2 separate regions of the Homo sapiens genome follow, and region 1 is linked to region 2. The links are contacts of gene promoters, found by promoter capture Hi-C in blood cells and fetal thymus (Javierre and others, 2016). All regions are on one chromosome and are shown on one strand. The core of a region is centred on a gene start or on the middle of the fragment in contact, and the rest is flanking DNA. Distances in the headings are between cores, read along the strand shown. Region 1 holds the start of LOC101927522 (a long non-coding RNA gene). Region 2 holds the start of COX6B1 (cytochrome c oxidase subunit 6B1).

Region 1 (3,084 bases), core at 315-2,814, 210 kb before region 2:
CAGCCACAATGCCTGTCTTGTGATGCTCTATCCCCAACCATCCATGGAGAGATGAAAATGCATGATCTGGTTGTTACCTTGCACTCAGCTGCCTAATCCAAGAGACATGCAGGTGACTTTGAGAAGGCTGGGGCTGTCCTGGGCCCACAGAATTCAGACAGAAGACACTGGGGAAAGGAGAGGAGGTGGGACAGGGACCAGACACAGAGCACTGGAAAGGAGAGGATGTGCAGGAGCAAGAGCTGAGCCGGATTTTCCAGACGGCGGCAGACTCTGGGGGGCTGCCTGGACTTGGGGCATTTTTTCTGGGCTGGCCCTGGACTTAGAGAATATTTTTGTGATTTAGCGGCCCCAATTTTTGTGAAATGTCCTCTGCTGACTGAGAGATTAACCTGCTTTGACTGGGCCATGCTAAAAAATGAACAGGAATTTGATATAGTCCAGTGTGGAGGTGGAGAGGGAGGGAGGTGAAGAAAGAACAGAAGGAAGGGGTAAGACACACTGAGGAGCAGATGGAAGTTACCTGAGGGGATCCTCCAAAGAAGAAAGGGTGGGCTATGCAAACAGTGGATGTAAAAAGACGCCTGGAAGAAGTTAGGACTTGGATTTCTAGGAGAGATTAATTCGACTTGTAGGAGCAGGGATTTGGGGAGAGGCAGAGGGCTCTGCTGCCTCTGAAAGAGCTCACCGAGTGCGCTCCCTCTCTCTGACTAAGGACCCCTGTGGATAAGAAAGCTCTCTGCCCTAGAGAAGAAGAGCAGTCAAGGTGCTTACAGGCTCTTTCCCGAAGACTGAAGACCTTTCCCAGGGTGGACTGTGGTGCCCTTCCCTGTGCAGGCACCCTGACCACTGTGTGTTCAGAGAAGAGGGATGTGGCACACACACCTGAGAAGCACTGGGACTCCTGCGAGACCAAGTGGGAGGTTGCCACTCCTGGGGACCATCTGATGGGAAGCAGCGGTGAAGAAAAGGGAATGGCGTCTGGATGTGGATGGAGGCAGGTGCTTCTACTGCTGCCCGGCCAGAGAGGAGCATCCCCAGAGGGTCCGTCCCTAGCCAGGCTGGAAGCTTGTCTCTGCGCATCTGGTCCCCTCTCGAAGCAGTTCTCAAAAGCCGTTGAGACACACTGCTGGGATGTGGCAACACACCAAGAGGCAAGAAATGTAAGTCCATGGTTCCTGGTAATACTGAAAAAACTAGGCTTTGGAAGTTTAAGTAAACAAAGAAATGAGAGGATATAAGGTAAGCTGTTACAACGTCACTGTCAGTTATGAGTATTCTGTTATGCTTTCTTTTGAGCCAGTCTCGCTCTTTTGCCCAGGCTAGAGTACAGTGGCATGATCTCGGCTCACTGCAACCTTTGCCTCCCGGGTTCAAGCGATTCTCCTGCCTCAGCCTCCTGAGTCACTGGGATTACACATGCCCGCCACCACACCCAGCTAAATTTTTTTGTATTTTAGTACAGACAGGGTTTCACCATGTTGCCCAGGGTGGTCTCAAACTCCTGAGCTCAGGCAATCCGCCCACCTCAGCCTCGCAAAGTGCTAGGATTACAGGTGTGGGCCATCATGCCTGGCCCCCATTACACTTTCTAGAGAGAGGAAGAAGTACTAACCTCACAGTGCAGACTGGAGACTGCACAGCACATGCGCAGATGGTCTTGACAGAGGATGCCTCCCTCTGTGCTGGGGAACTCATCCTTGCCCATTCAGTTTCCGTGGCTCAAGCAGGCTGATGTCAGCCCTTGGCGATGCTGTTGGCGTGTGTGACCCACAAATCATTCAGAGGCAGCAGAGCCAGCCTGGAGATCCGGGCTGTGACTTCAGGACAGGAGACCCTCTCTCTGCACAGGTTATTATCCTAAACTGCCAAAGGTCACTGCGTGAAGCAATTTTACTAAGAGCCACCAAACCCCTCTCTTCCCTCCAACCAAGTTCATTCACCCTTCTCAGAAGAGCCCAAGAGACCTCTGTGAGAGTAAGACAGGAGTTGGCGATGGTGCAATTTGCAGAACGCCATGTTTGTTAGCGCCTTGTCTTCATGTGGCCGGAGGGCACTCCTGAAGCTTCAAACTCCTGTAAAAACGCTTCCTGTCCAGGGAGGGTGGTATGGGAAGTCTGAGGTGGCTGGGAGAGGAACTGGCGAAGTAAGGAGTTGGAGCAGGAGTCAGAGAGACATGGGATGGGGAAACTCACAAGCAGACTCCACCCCAGTCAGGGAACCTCACTCACCGTTCCATTAAGGGCTGGAAAAGGAGGCACCGACAGGTGTCTCACAGAAGCGAATGGTAGCTGTTCAGGAGGCTGGACCCAGGAAAAAGGACATAAAATCGGGGAGGTGCCTCACCCTAATTTTTCTCAACTCCAGCAGAACCTTCTTAGAGAGCCTCACTCAATTCCACATTTCTCCTCCTCTCAGACAAGCCCGGCAGCTCCGTCCACGTCCTTTGCTGAATGGAGCCAGCGTGGTCACTTCTGCCCTATCGAGGAAGCTGAAGGCCCTGGCCCATCTCTGACAGCTCAGGGCACAGGAAAGCCTTGCCTCTGCCTAGTCTGCCCTCTGCTTCCCCACCAGCGTCATCTGTGGCCCACGGCTCTTGGCTGGACCTGCACTGAAGGACACAGCTGCTCCGAGCTACACAACAGGGTGGCTGTCCCTCCGCCCTCCATGTGTGGTGGCTGCTGCAGCAGGATACAGCCAGCCTCCTGGCTGCTATCCCACAGTGCTATGGTTGATTGCGTTCTTACACTGGAAGATAAACAGTGCTTGTGTCAAAGAAAATAGAAACAAGGCCGAGCATGGTGGCTCATGCCTGTAATCCCAGCACTTTGGGAGGCGGAGGTGGGCAGATCACTTGAGGTCAGGAGTTTGAGATCAGCCTGTCCAACATGGCGAAACCCCATCTCTACTAAAAATATAAAAATTAGCTGGGTGTGTTGGCATGCGCCTGTAACCCCAGCTACTCGGGAGGCAGAAGCAGAAGAATTGCTTGAAACCGGGAGGCAGAGGTTGTAGTGAGCCAAGATCGCACCACTGCACTCCAGCCTGGGAGTGCTCATATGAGCACTCACTCTACAGAGACCC
Region 2 (3,392 bases), core at 196-2,695:
GAATAAGGCAGACAAAAATTCTTCCTTTATGATAATTCTTTTCTGTTGAGGGAGGCAAAAAGAGGTAAACATAATGTAAAAGAACAGATATAGCCGGGCACGGTGGCTCACGCCTGTAATCCCAGCACTTTGGAAGGCCAAGGCGGGCAGATCACCTGAGGTCAAAAGTTCAAGACCAGCCTGACCAACATGGACAAACCGCATCTCTACTAAAAATACAAAATTAGCCAGGTGTGGTGGCGCATGCCTGTAATCCCAGCTACTGGGGAGGCTGAGGCAGAAGAATCGCTCTAGCTCGGGAGGTGGAGGTTGCAGTGAGCCAAGATCACACCACTGCACTCCAGCCTGGGCAACAAGAGCAAAACTCTGTCTGAAAAAAAAAAAAAAAAAAAAAAAAAAAAAGCCAAATTGGCCAGGTAGGGCAGCTCACGCCTGTAATCCCAGCATTTTGGGAGGCCGAGGTGGGCAGATCACCTGAGGTCAGGAGTTCAAGACCAACCTGACCAACATGGTGAAATCCCATCTCTACCAAAAATACCAAAATTAGCCGGGAGTGGTGGCGTGCGCTTGTAATCGCACCTACTCGGGAGGCTGAGGCAGGAGAATCGCTTGAACCGAGTAGACGCAGGTTGCAGTGAGCCAAGTTCGTGCCACTGCACTCCAGCCTGGGCGACAGAGTGAGACTCCGTCTCTCTCTCTATATATATATTTTAAGGGTAGGGATTTTTGTGTTTTGTGCAGCGTGCTTTCTCAACCCGTAAAGTGCCTGATGGCTGGATACGGTGGGTCACGCCGGTAATCCTAACGCTTTGGAAGGCCGAGGCGGGAGGATCGCTTAGAGACCAGGAGTTCGAGTCCAGCCTGGGTAACACAGCAAGACCCCATCTCTATAAAATGCATATATATATCCAGGAGTAGCGGTGCGCATCTGTAATCCCAGCTACTCGGGAGGATGAGGCGGGAGAATCGCTTGAACCCAGGAGGCGGAGGTTGCAGTGAGCTGAGATCGCGCTACTGCACTCCAGCCTGGGCCATAGAGTAAGACCCTGTCTCAAAAATTTAAAAAAAAGAAAAAAAAAATTTAAAGAAAAGAAATACCTGACACAGAAAAAGCGTTCAATAAATATTTCTTGCATGAATAAAAGTACTTTCGCTGGGACATTTTTCTCCACACCTACCCTCCAGCCAGCCCCGGGATCTATAACACTCTCTCCGAGTGAAGACACAGAGGTGATGAGATCGGGTAACCCACGGGCGCCCGAGCCCCAGCCGCGCAAGCTCACGATTGGGCCAGAAGTGAGGATGAACAAGCATTTAGCCCAATAGAAAGTCGTAGTTCTCTTGCTGGGCGTGGCTTGAATGACTTCAGTGGCCTCCTCCTGGGAGGGAGCTGAAGCCGCTCGCAAGACTCCCGTAGTCCCCACCTCTCTCAGCTTCCGGCTGGTAGTAGTTCCGCTTCCTGTCCGACTGTGGTGTCTTTGCTGAGGGTCACATTGAGCTGCAGGTTGAATCCGGGGTGCCTTTAGGTGAGTGTGGAGGGTTCTGTAACCTGGGACCCCAGTCTAGCGGGCTGAGGAGCCGGACCCCAGCTTCCCTGAGAACGGGTTGAGGCTTCCGGCTGGCGGCGTCCGGCCTCCCTGGACCCCGGGGCCCTGTTCTGTTCATCGTAAGAGCTAACAATGATACGGTTCTTCCTTGATGCCAGGCAACATCCCAAACAACTTTAATTAATTTATTTAACTCTCCCACCAGCCCTATGAGATAGGGCCTGCGATTATCCCCTTTTGTCAGTAAACAGGCTCAGAGATACCAAGCGACCTAGCTGAACCTACACAGCGACCAGGATTTGGCCCAGGAGTTTGTCCTCCAGGGCTCTTCATGGCTAATTCACAGGCGTGGCCTCTCGCGGCTTGCCTGGGCCGCAGCCTGGCTCCCGGGTGTCCAGTCCATCCTCCCTTTTGGACGTTGGAGGGGCCGCAGCGTCATCTCCGATGCACCCTCATCCTCAGATACCGGGTAGAGATCTCGCCGGTAACGATCCTTCCTACTGCGTCTGTGCCCCAGCAGCTGGTGTTTTACACCCCACTTCCCCACCGAAAGACTGTTTTAGTGCTCCAGACCCCCACCACCACCTTGCGTCGCTTGAATTTGACACTGCTCTGCAAGTCTCTGTATAGCCCCACGACTCCTAGGATTCCCTGGAATATAGATACTTTTCTCTCAGGCTCCCGACGAACACTGTCACTTCTTCAGAGACATTATATTAAAGGTGTTTAACCCTGGGTCCGCAGAGTTGGTAGAATTCAAGGAATGCTAGTACTTGAATTGGGGTGGGGGGTGGAATTGCATCTGTGTTTTTACTAACCTTTTGAGGCAGCAACCTCGGTAGTACTAGCAGCAGCGGTGATTTTGTTAGCAATGAAAATCATAGACATTCCTTTTTTTTGTTTTTCTCCTTTTTTGAGACAGGGTCACTGTGTCACCCAGGCTGGCGTGCAGTGGAGAAATCTTGGCTCACTGCAACCTCTGCTTCCCTGTGCAAGCGATCCTGCCTCAGTAGCTGGGACCACAGGCACGCGCCACCACACCTGGCTAATTTTAATTTTTTTTTTTTTTTTTGAGACAAGATCTTGCTGTATCGCCCAGGCTGGAGTACAATGGCACAATCTCGGCTCACTGCAACCTCCGCCTCTTGGGTTCAAGTGATTCTCCTGCCCCAGCCTCCCTGGTAGCTGGGATTACAGGTGCACGCCACCATGCCCAGCTAATTTTTTGTATTTTTAGTAGAGATGGGGTTTCACCATATTGGCCAAGCTGGTCTTGAACTCCTGACCTCAGGTGATCCACCCACCTCGGCTTCCCAAAGTGCTGGGATTACAGGCGTGAGCCACCTCTTCCGGCCAATTTTAATATTTTTTTTGTAGAGATGAGATGGGGTTTCACCATGTTGCCCAGGCTGGTCTTGAACTCCTGGGCTCAAGCGATCCTCCCACCTCAGCATTCCAAAGTGCTGGGATTACAGGTGTGAACCATTGTGCTCCACCCAAAATCACAGGTATTCTTATACCACATTATAACAGCAAATGTCACAAAATACTATATTCATTCATGATTACTTCAAAATTGTATTTTTTTTTTTTTTTGAGACAGTGTTTTTGCTCTGTTGCCCAGGTTGGAGTGCACTGGCACAATCTCGGCTCACTACAACCTCCGCCTCCTGGGTTTAAGCGATTCTTTTGCCTCAACATCCAGAGTAGCTGGGATTATAGGCACCTGCCACCACACCCAGCTGATTTTTATATTTTTAGTAGAGCCAGGGTTTCACCATGTTGGCCAGGCTGGTCTTGAACTCCTGACCTCAGGTGATCCACCCCCCTGGCCTCCCAAAGTGC

What was found. Contacts are between HindIII fragments. The CHiCAGO score rates a contact against its expected background, and 5 or more counts as called.
Region 1: a fragment that was not itself captured here is called in contact with the fragment with the promoter of COX6B1 in region 2 in 1 of 17 cell types (neutrophils); the score reaches 5.1 in neutrophils.

Annotation. Positions count from the first base shown.
Region 1 is chr19:35,431,974-35,435,057 of GRCh38, forward strand. It overlaps LOC101927522 (a long non-coding RNA gene), which reads right to left and starts at 2,680. Exons shown (of 7, transcript NR_187751.1): 1 at 2,347-2,680; 2 at 1,616-1,865; 3 at 886-1,129. RefSeq lists an enhancer at 921-2,120. The HindIII fragment of the contact is 997 bases long and covers 1,067-2,063 here.
Region 2 is chr19:35,646,878-35,650,269 of GRCh38, forward strand. COX6B1 (cytochrome c oxidase subunit 6B1) reads left to right here and starts at 1,446. Exons shown (of 4, transcript NM_001863.5): 1 at 1,446-1,526. RefSeq lists enhancers at 1,438-1,497, 1,658-1,707. The HindIII fragment of the contact is 14,427 bases long and covers 1-3,392 here.